Linked DNA regions of Homo sapiens: region 2 is linked to region 1. The links are contacts of gene promoters, found by promoter capture Hi-C in blood cells and fetal thymus (Javierre and others, 2016). All regions are on one chromosome and are shown on one strand. Each heading gives the region's core, a stretch centred on a gene start or on the middle of the fragment in contact. The rest is flanking DNA. Distances are from core to core; before and after follow the strand shown.

Region 1 (3,198 bases), core at 265-2,764:
ATCTTGGGGAACTTGGTGGCAAAAGCTGTTATGTATTTTAGGAATTATCATAGTTTGTGTTTTGTCTTGCCTTTGTCTGCAGAGCTGTTATGGTATTTATCTGCAATTGGGTCAACACACAGCTGAGAAAATGTGTAGAACAAAGACTACTCAGAGAATTGTTTGATTGAAGAGGCAGCCGTGTAGCCTGAATCAGGTTCCAGAACTACTTTCTCTTGTTGCTTTATAATTCGGACTTGGTCCTTTCCAATTTCCCCTCCTCCCTGGGATGTGACTGCCAGGAAGGGGCCTTCCTAGTGACATGAGGTTTGATCAAATACACGGCCTGAGAATATAATTCTTCTATAATGCTTTCTCTGAAAGCTTTTGAAGAAAAGGGGAAAATGTGAAAAGAAAATTTCAGCACTTTCCAAACGTACTATGCCAAGGGGAAAAGTTAAGCCCTGTAAACTAAATCACAGAACATGGCTGTTTTTCTTCTCTGGTGCATGACTGTTGCTTCCTGATCTTTGTGTTGATGTTATATATTAACCAGATTTTTTATTCTTTATTCAGACTAAATGACGTTGGAGATAGAGACCCTTGTGATTGTTACCTCTTTACAATAGAATATTAAACAACCCCCTTACAGTGTAATCAATAGTAGTGAATTGAATCTTCTGTGTACGTTAGCCTCATCTAGAAAATGCTGTAATTACGTACAGCACTCCTGTTTTTGGTGATATAAATGACCCTCACCTTTCCCTGCATCAGGGAGCACTGATCACCATTCTTTGCTGTCAGTGGTTCCCGGGATAGCCGCCCTCACACTTTGCACTTGAATAAACTCTTTCAACTGGATCCCTGAGCTTTTTGGTTATTTTAGGCTGACATTAGTTAACTAACAAGATGTTAGTTCTTCAGTCTGTTAATTCTGAGGGGTTGACCAGAGGTCCTGTAAGGTCCCTTCCAACTCTAACATTCCACGATTTCGTGAATTTAAAGACTGTGGTTGCCCCTGTATTAACTGGGTTCAGGAGTAAGATAGATAAATTAAGTCATCCAATCGACAAATATTTATTACAGTTCTCTATTGTGTGTAGGTGTATCTGTGGAAATAGGAAACTGTATTTTGGTGCACTCCTGCTTCCAAATCACAGAACTACAACTCCTTCAGCAGAAATTTTCTAAGCTTCCCGCACCAGCCAGAGACCAAGATTCTGCGGTGCACATAGTCAAGGGTTGCTATGGAGTCCAACACGGCCCCAAACAGAAGTGGTCCCTGAAAATTTCTTTCCCAGAAAACTTGCATTTGAAAAACAATGCCATTCCAATTCGCCTTTTCCTAAAGTAAACTCATAAATAGAGACAACCAAACTTTCGCTCTCAGCCCAGAGAACGACGCTCTCCTCCCAAGAGGAACCTCGGCTCTTCCGCGGCAGAAGCTGCACGGAACCAAGAAGCCGCGGGCGCTGGTTCTCCAACGAGCTTTTCTCCCGTTCGTACCAGCGTCCAGGCGGGGTTACCGTGGAGACAGAACGTGCTGTGTGGATGCGGCGAAACGCTGAGGCGCGGCCTTCGCTGTGTGGTGGGGACTCACAAGACCGACGTCAAGATGGTTAGTGGCTCTGAATAGTAAGGGAGTACTTTGAGTAGGTCCTGAGGCTGGCGATTAGAGGTTCCCAGCACACTTCTGTGTGAAGTCTAGGTGTGTCCGCAGAGAGTAATCCCCAGCTCTCCCTGTGTTCCCACGGGGGACAGGGATGCAACTGTAAATACCTCGGTGCTTTCTTCCCTCCTGCTTTTCCGTTTACTCACATTTAAACCACTCGTGGGATGGGAAGCAGAGGAAGGGAAAGCTGAGATGACAGAAGCAATGCGAAAGCATCTCTAGCCAGAGAAGATAAAAGTTGGGAGTAGCTGTTTGGTCCTTCCTAAGTATTGGCTGATGGCTCTTCTAGTAGAATACCTGTTACAAAACGAGTTTGAATAGGCTTCCCTGGGGTTCGTTGTTAAGGATTTGACTTATAATTTTTTTTTTTTTTTTGAGATGGAGGCTCGCTTTGTCGCCCAGGTTGGAGTGCAGTGGCGCGATCTTGGCTCACTGCAACCTCTGCCTCTAGGTTCAAGCGTTTCTTCTGCCTCAGCCTCCCGAGTAGCTGGGACTACAGGCGCATGCCACCACGCCCGGCTAATTTTTGTATTTTTAGTAGAGATGCGGTGTCACCATATTGACCAGGCTGGTCTCCAACTCCTGACCTCGTGATCCGCCGCCTTCGCCTCTCAAAGTGCTGGGATTACAGGCATGAGCCACTGTGCCCGGCCTTGACTTATAAATTACAGAGCTGTCACTCTCAGTTTAAATCTGATAATCAGAATTGGACCATACAGCTGTCTTTGTTTCTTTTACAGATGCTTTCAAGGGCCAAACCTGCTGTAGGCAGAGGCGTACAGCACACTGACAAAAGAAAGAAGAAAGGTAGGAAGATTCCAAAACTAGAGGAGCTACTTTCAAAAAGAGATTTCACTGGAGCTATTACCCTGTTGGAGGTAATGCCCAAAGAACGTTGCTTCTTAGTGTATGAATACCAGACTGTAGATGAATGCTTGGGTGAATGCTGTTTGCTATGCTCTTGAAATAGGTGGGTGCATTCTGGGGCTTCCTGTACAAATCCCCTGTAAATCTAGTCAGGCACAGATTCCAGATTCCAAGTTAGCTATAAACCTGATAAAAAACGAACTAAAAAACTAAACTTGGCCGGGCGCGGTGGCTCATGCCTGTAATTCCAGCACTTCGGGAGGCCGAGACGGGCAGATCACAAGGTCAAGAGATCGAGACCATCCTGGCCAACATGGTGAAACCCCGTCTCTATTGAAAATACAAAAATTAGCTGGGCATGGTGGCACGTGTCTGTAGTCCCAGCTACTCGGGAGGCTGAGGCTGGAGAATCGCTTGAACCCGGGAGGCGGAGGTTGCAGTGAGCCAAGATCATGCCACTGCACTCCAGCCTGGCTACAAGGCGAGACTCCGTCTCAAAAAAAAAAAAAAAAAAAAACAAAACAAAACTTATTTCTTGAGGGCCACTTTTGAGTATGTCTAGTTCACCAACAGTGATTACAATCTAAAAATATGAAGGGACCTTTTATACAATGTCATTTCACACATTGCTTATCCCAACCCTTGACCAATGTATGATTTTTTCCTATTATGTGTTCTAA
Region 2 (3,198 bases), core at 427-2,926, 3.5 Mb before region 1:
TACTCGGGAGGCTGAGGCAGGAGAATGGCGTGAACCCGGGAGGCGGAGCTTGCAGTGAGCCGAGACTGCGCCACTGCACTCCAGCCTGGGTGACAGAGCGAGACTCCGTCTCAAAAAAAAAAAAAAGTTTGTAAAATTCGTACCTAATAATTTAGGACAGTCATGTCTGCTTACAGGTGTTATTTGTCTGTTAAAACTAGTCTGCAGATTGTTTCATGAATGCTTTGTCAAATTATGAAAATTAAAGTGCAATAATTTTTGAAGACAATAAGGGATGGTGTATCTTGTTTCTAATAAGATGAACTTTTTTTGTCTTTGCTTTATCTTATTAGGGAGTTATATATCTTATTAGGGAGTTAGTGTTTAAAACATACTGTGTGGTATAATAGGCTTAAAATAAATTCTTTAAAAGAGAAAGAGAGAAAAAAACACACACATACACAGACCGGAAGACTGACAGAACAGACTCTTTGTGGCGATGATACAAATTGTCAACAGGACCTATGGCCATCCCAGGCAAGAAACCCAGCTAGGCCAGTGAAACTGAGAGCCAACCTGATGAGGCCTGCCAAATGCAACTTCTCTCACTTGTTTTTAGTCACCTGCTTTTAGTGGATTAAAAAACCCACATAGCTAAAGTCACAGAGCTAAACAATATATATCTAAGCTCCCACTATCTTCCTTATGGATAACATCTCTGACATCTGGGTTGCTTGATAAAGGTTTCTTGTTTTTCAGGAAGTTGGGGTCAGTTCTTGTACAGTTTAAACCACCAACCTCTCAACTGGGCCTGCATGAAAGCCCGATGGGTGTCCTTCTGACATTAGAGGGCCAAAACCTCCACACTCAGATCATGCTAAGGATGTCATTTTGTGACCATGTATCCTATAAAGAGCCATGAAGCTTGACTACCTCGCGCAGATAACCCATTGCCAAACTTTTCCTTACCTTCAACCGCCTTTCCCCACACCTCAGACCACCCTGCTCCTCTATCCCATAAATATCCCTAAAACCCATCTTTGGGGAGGCAGATTTGAGATCTGTTCTCCCGTCTCCTCGGCTGGCTGCCTGGTGAATAAACCTTTTCTCTGCTACAAAACTCATCATCTCAGTGACTGGCGTGCGGCACACGGCAGCATGGGCCCCATACGGTACCCAGCCTCTACCTTGATTACACAACACCTGATTACACAACGCTGATTACACAGCACACCTGCGGAGCTTTGAGAGCTACAAGCCTCCTTTCCTCCCCGCAAAGTCCAGCTGGGCCCAAGTAGAGGATGCTGCAAAAGCCCCCACGATTCAGCTGCGAACCTAGGGATGGGACCCGCTGCTCATGCCGTCCTTCTAGGTTAGAGAGCCCTAAACTGGGCTGTGTATCAGAATAGTCCGCGTGCTGAGAATAATATAGATTCCTGGGCCTCGGCCCAGGTTTACAGAGGCGGGATGCTCAAGGATGCCCAGCCAGGCTCGGGACTTGCTCTTCGCAAGTCCTGTCGCGCGCTCGCTGCCCCGCCGGTTCAGGCGGTGAGGCCAACGCGCTCCGCCAGGGGGAACCTGGGCGCTGCGACACTGCAAGTCGTTTCCGGGCGCGGGCTGAGTGGGAGGAGCGGGGCGGGGCGTGGCGTGACCCGGAAGTCGACGAGGGGTTCCGCCCCCCCCGCGCATGGGGAGGTAGGCTCGGACCGGCCCGCGGAGCTGCTGCAGTCCTTCGCGCCCTCCTCGCCCTCCCCACCGACATCATGCTCCAGTTCCTGGTGAGTGGAGCTGCCGAAGAGCGGGGCCCGCTGCCTGGGGCGTGCCTCGGACCCCATTTCCCCCTTGAGGATTGCCGACCCCGCCGACCCGGCCTGGGCGTGGGTCCAGCGGTCCCTTCGTCCCCCGCGCCTGGTCGTCGCCTCGCAGGGCGGCCGTTTTCTTCCTGCCTCCCCAGAAAATCCCTTTGCCAATATTTTTCTGCAGCCATCCAAGTCCCTAAAACTTTGAGGTGTCAGAGAGTGTGCGTTTCCAGAGCTTCTTATTGTGTGCCGCGCCCCGCGCTCATTGTGCAATCTTTGTATTAAAGCTTGTGTGGTCCTTGATGACTTTTCGTAGTCCGCCCCCCTTTCTTTCTGCGCTCCTGTTCCATTACATGGTCGCCGGCCGGTCCCTGCTGTGGAGCCCTGCTAGTTGGCTTTTCTGAGGAGGTAGGAAGGCCAGGAATAAACCGTAAATTAGCCACCTCACGAAGTCCGAGAGGCTAAGTCCTCATCAGACCTTTCAGAGTTGGAGGAATGAGTCAGACACTGGTATACAAGTAATTTTTCCCAAAATGTGTAAGCATGAGTAAGCAGACTATTTCTCTTGGCTCCTTATTTGAGTTAAAAACGAGTTTTCTGGCAAAACTCGGTATATTTCAAAAATTGCTTGGTGAAGGTTCCAGGAGTTGCTCATCAAATTTTCAAGTGAAAGTTTTTCTGCCAAGCTATTGTGCATTCAAAACTTGATGCTTTCAACCTCTATTTTTTTTTATTTTTTATTTTTTTTGAGACGGAGTCTCGCTGTGTCGTCAGGCTGGAGTGCAGTGGCGCAATCTGGGCTCACTGGAACCTCCGCCTCCCGGGTTCAACCGATTCTCCCTCCTCGGCCTCCGGAGTAGCTGGGATTACAGGCGCGCACCAGGATGCTCAGCTAATTTTTGTATTTTTAGTAGAGACGGGTTTCACCAAGTTGGCCAGGCTGGTCTCGAACTCCTGACCTCAAGTGATCAACCCACCTCAGCCTACGAAAGTGCTGGGATTACAGGCGTGAGCCACTGCTCCCGGCTCAAATGCTGTATCTTTTTTTGTTGTTTGTTTTAACGGAGTCCCGCTCTGTCGCCAGGCTGGAGTGCAGTAGTGCGATCTCGGCTCACTGCAGCCTCCGCTTCCTGGGTTTAAGCGATTCTCCTGCCTCAGCCTCCCGAGTAGCTGGTGCGCGCCAGCAGGCCCAGTTAATTTTTGTATTTTTAGTAGAGACGGGGTTTCACCCCGTTGGCCGGGATGGTCTCGATCTCCTGACCTCGGGATCTGCCTGCCTCAGCCTCCCAAAGTGCTGGGATTACAGGCGTGAGCCTCCGCGCCCGGCCCCAAATGCTGTATCTTTATCAAAGAGATTAAAACACAAAATGCACCCCTTTTGTCCTTTTGAAAGATGGTAATGGATTGTTAAATCCAATTA

What was found. The method cuts DNA at HindIII sites, captures the fragments that hold promoters and counts their contacts. A CHiCAGO score of 5 or more calls a contact.
Region 2: the fragment with the promoter of STMP1 here is called in contact with the fragment with the promoter of IFT56 in region 1 in 1 of 17 cell types (total B cells); the score reaches 6.9 in total B cells.

Annotation. Positions count from the first base shown.
Region 1 is chr7:139,132,264-139,135,461 of GRCh38, forward strand. It overlaps IFT56 (intraflagellar transport 56), which reads left to right and starts at 1,515. Exons shown (of 18, transcript NM_024926.4): 1 at 1,515-1,597; 2 at 2,392-2,529. The coding sequence starts at 1,595. RefSeq lists enhancers at 1,340-1,634, 1,352-1,531. The HindIII fragment of the contact is 9,761 bases long and covers 1,170-3,198 here.
Region 2 is chr7:135,660,838-135,664,035 of GRCh38, forward strand. STMP1 (short transmembrane mitochondrial protein 1) reads left to right here and starts at 1,677. Exons shown (of 3, transcript NM_001130929.2): 1 at 1,677-1,757. The coding sequence starts at 1,743. RefSeq lists a silencer at 1,552-1,771 and enhancers at 2,411-2,935, 2,936-3,198. The HindIII fragment of the contact is 1,162 bases long and covers 902-2,063 here.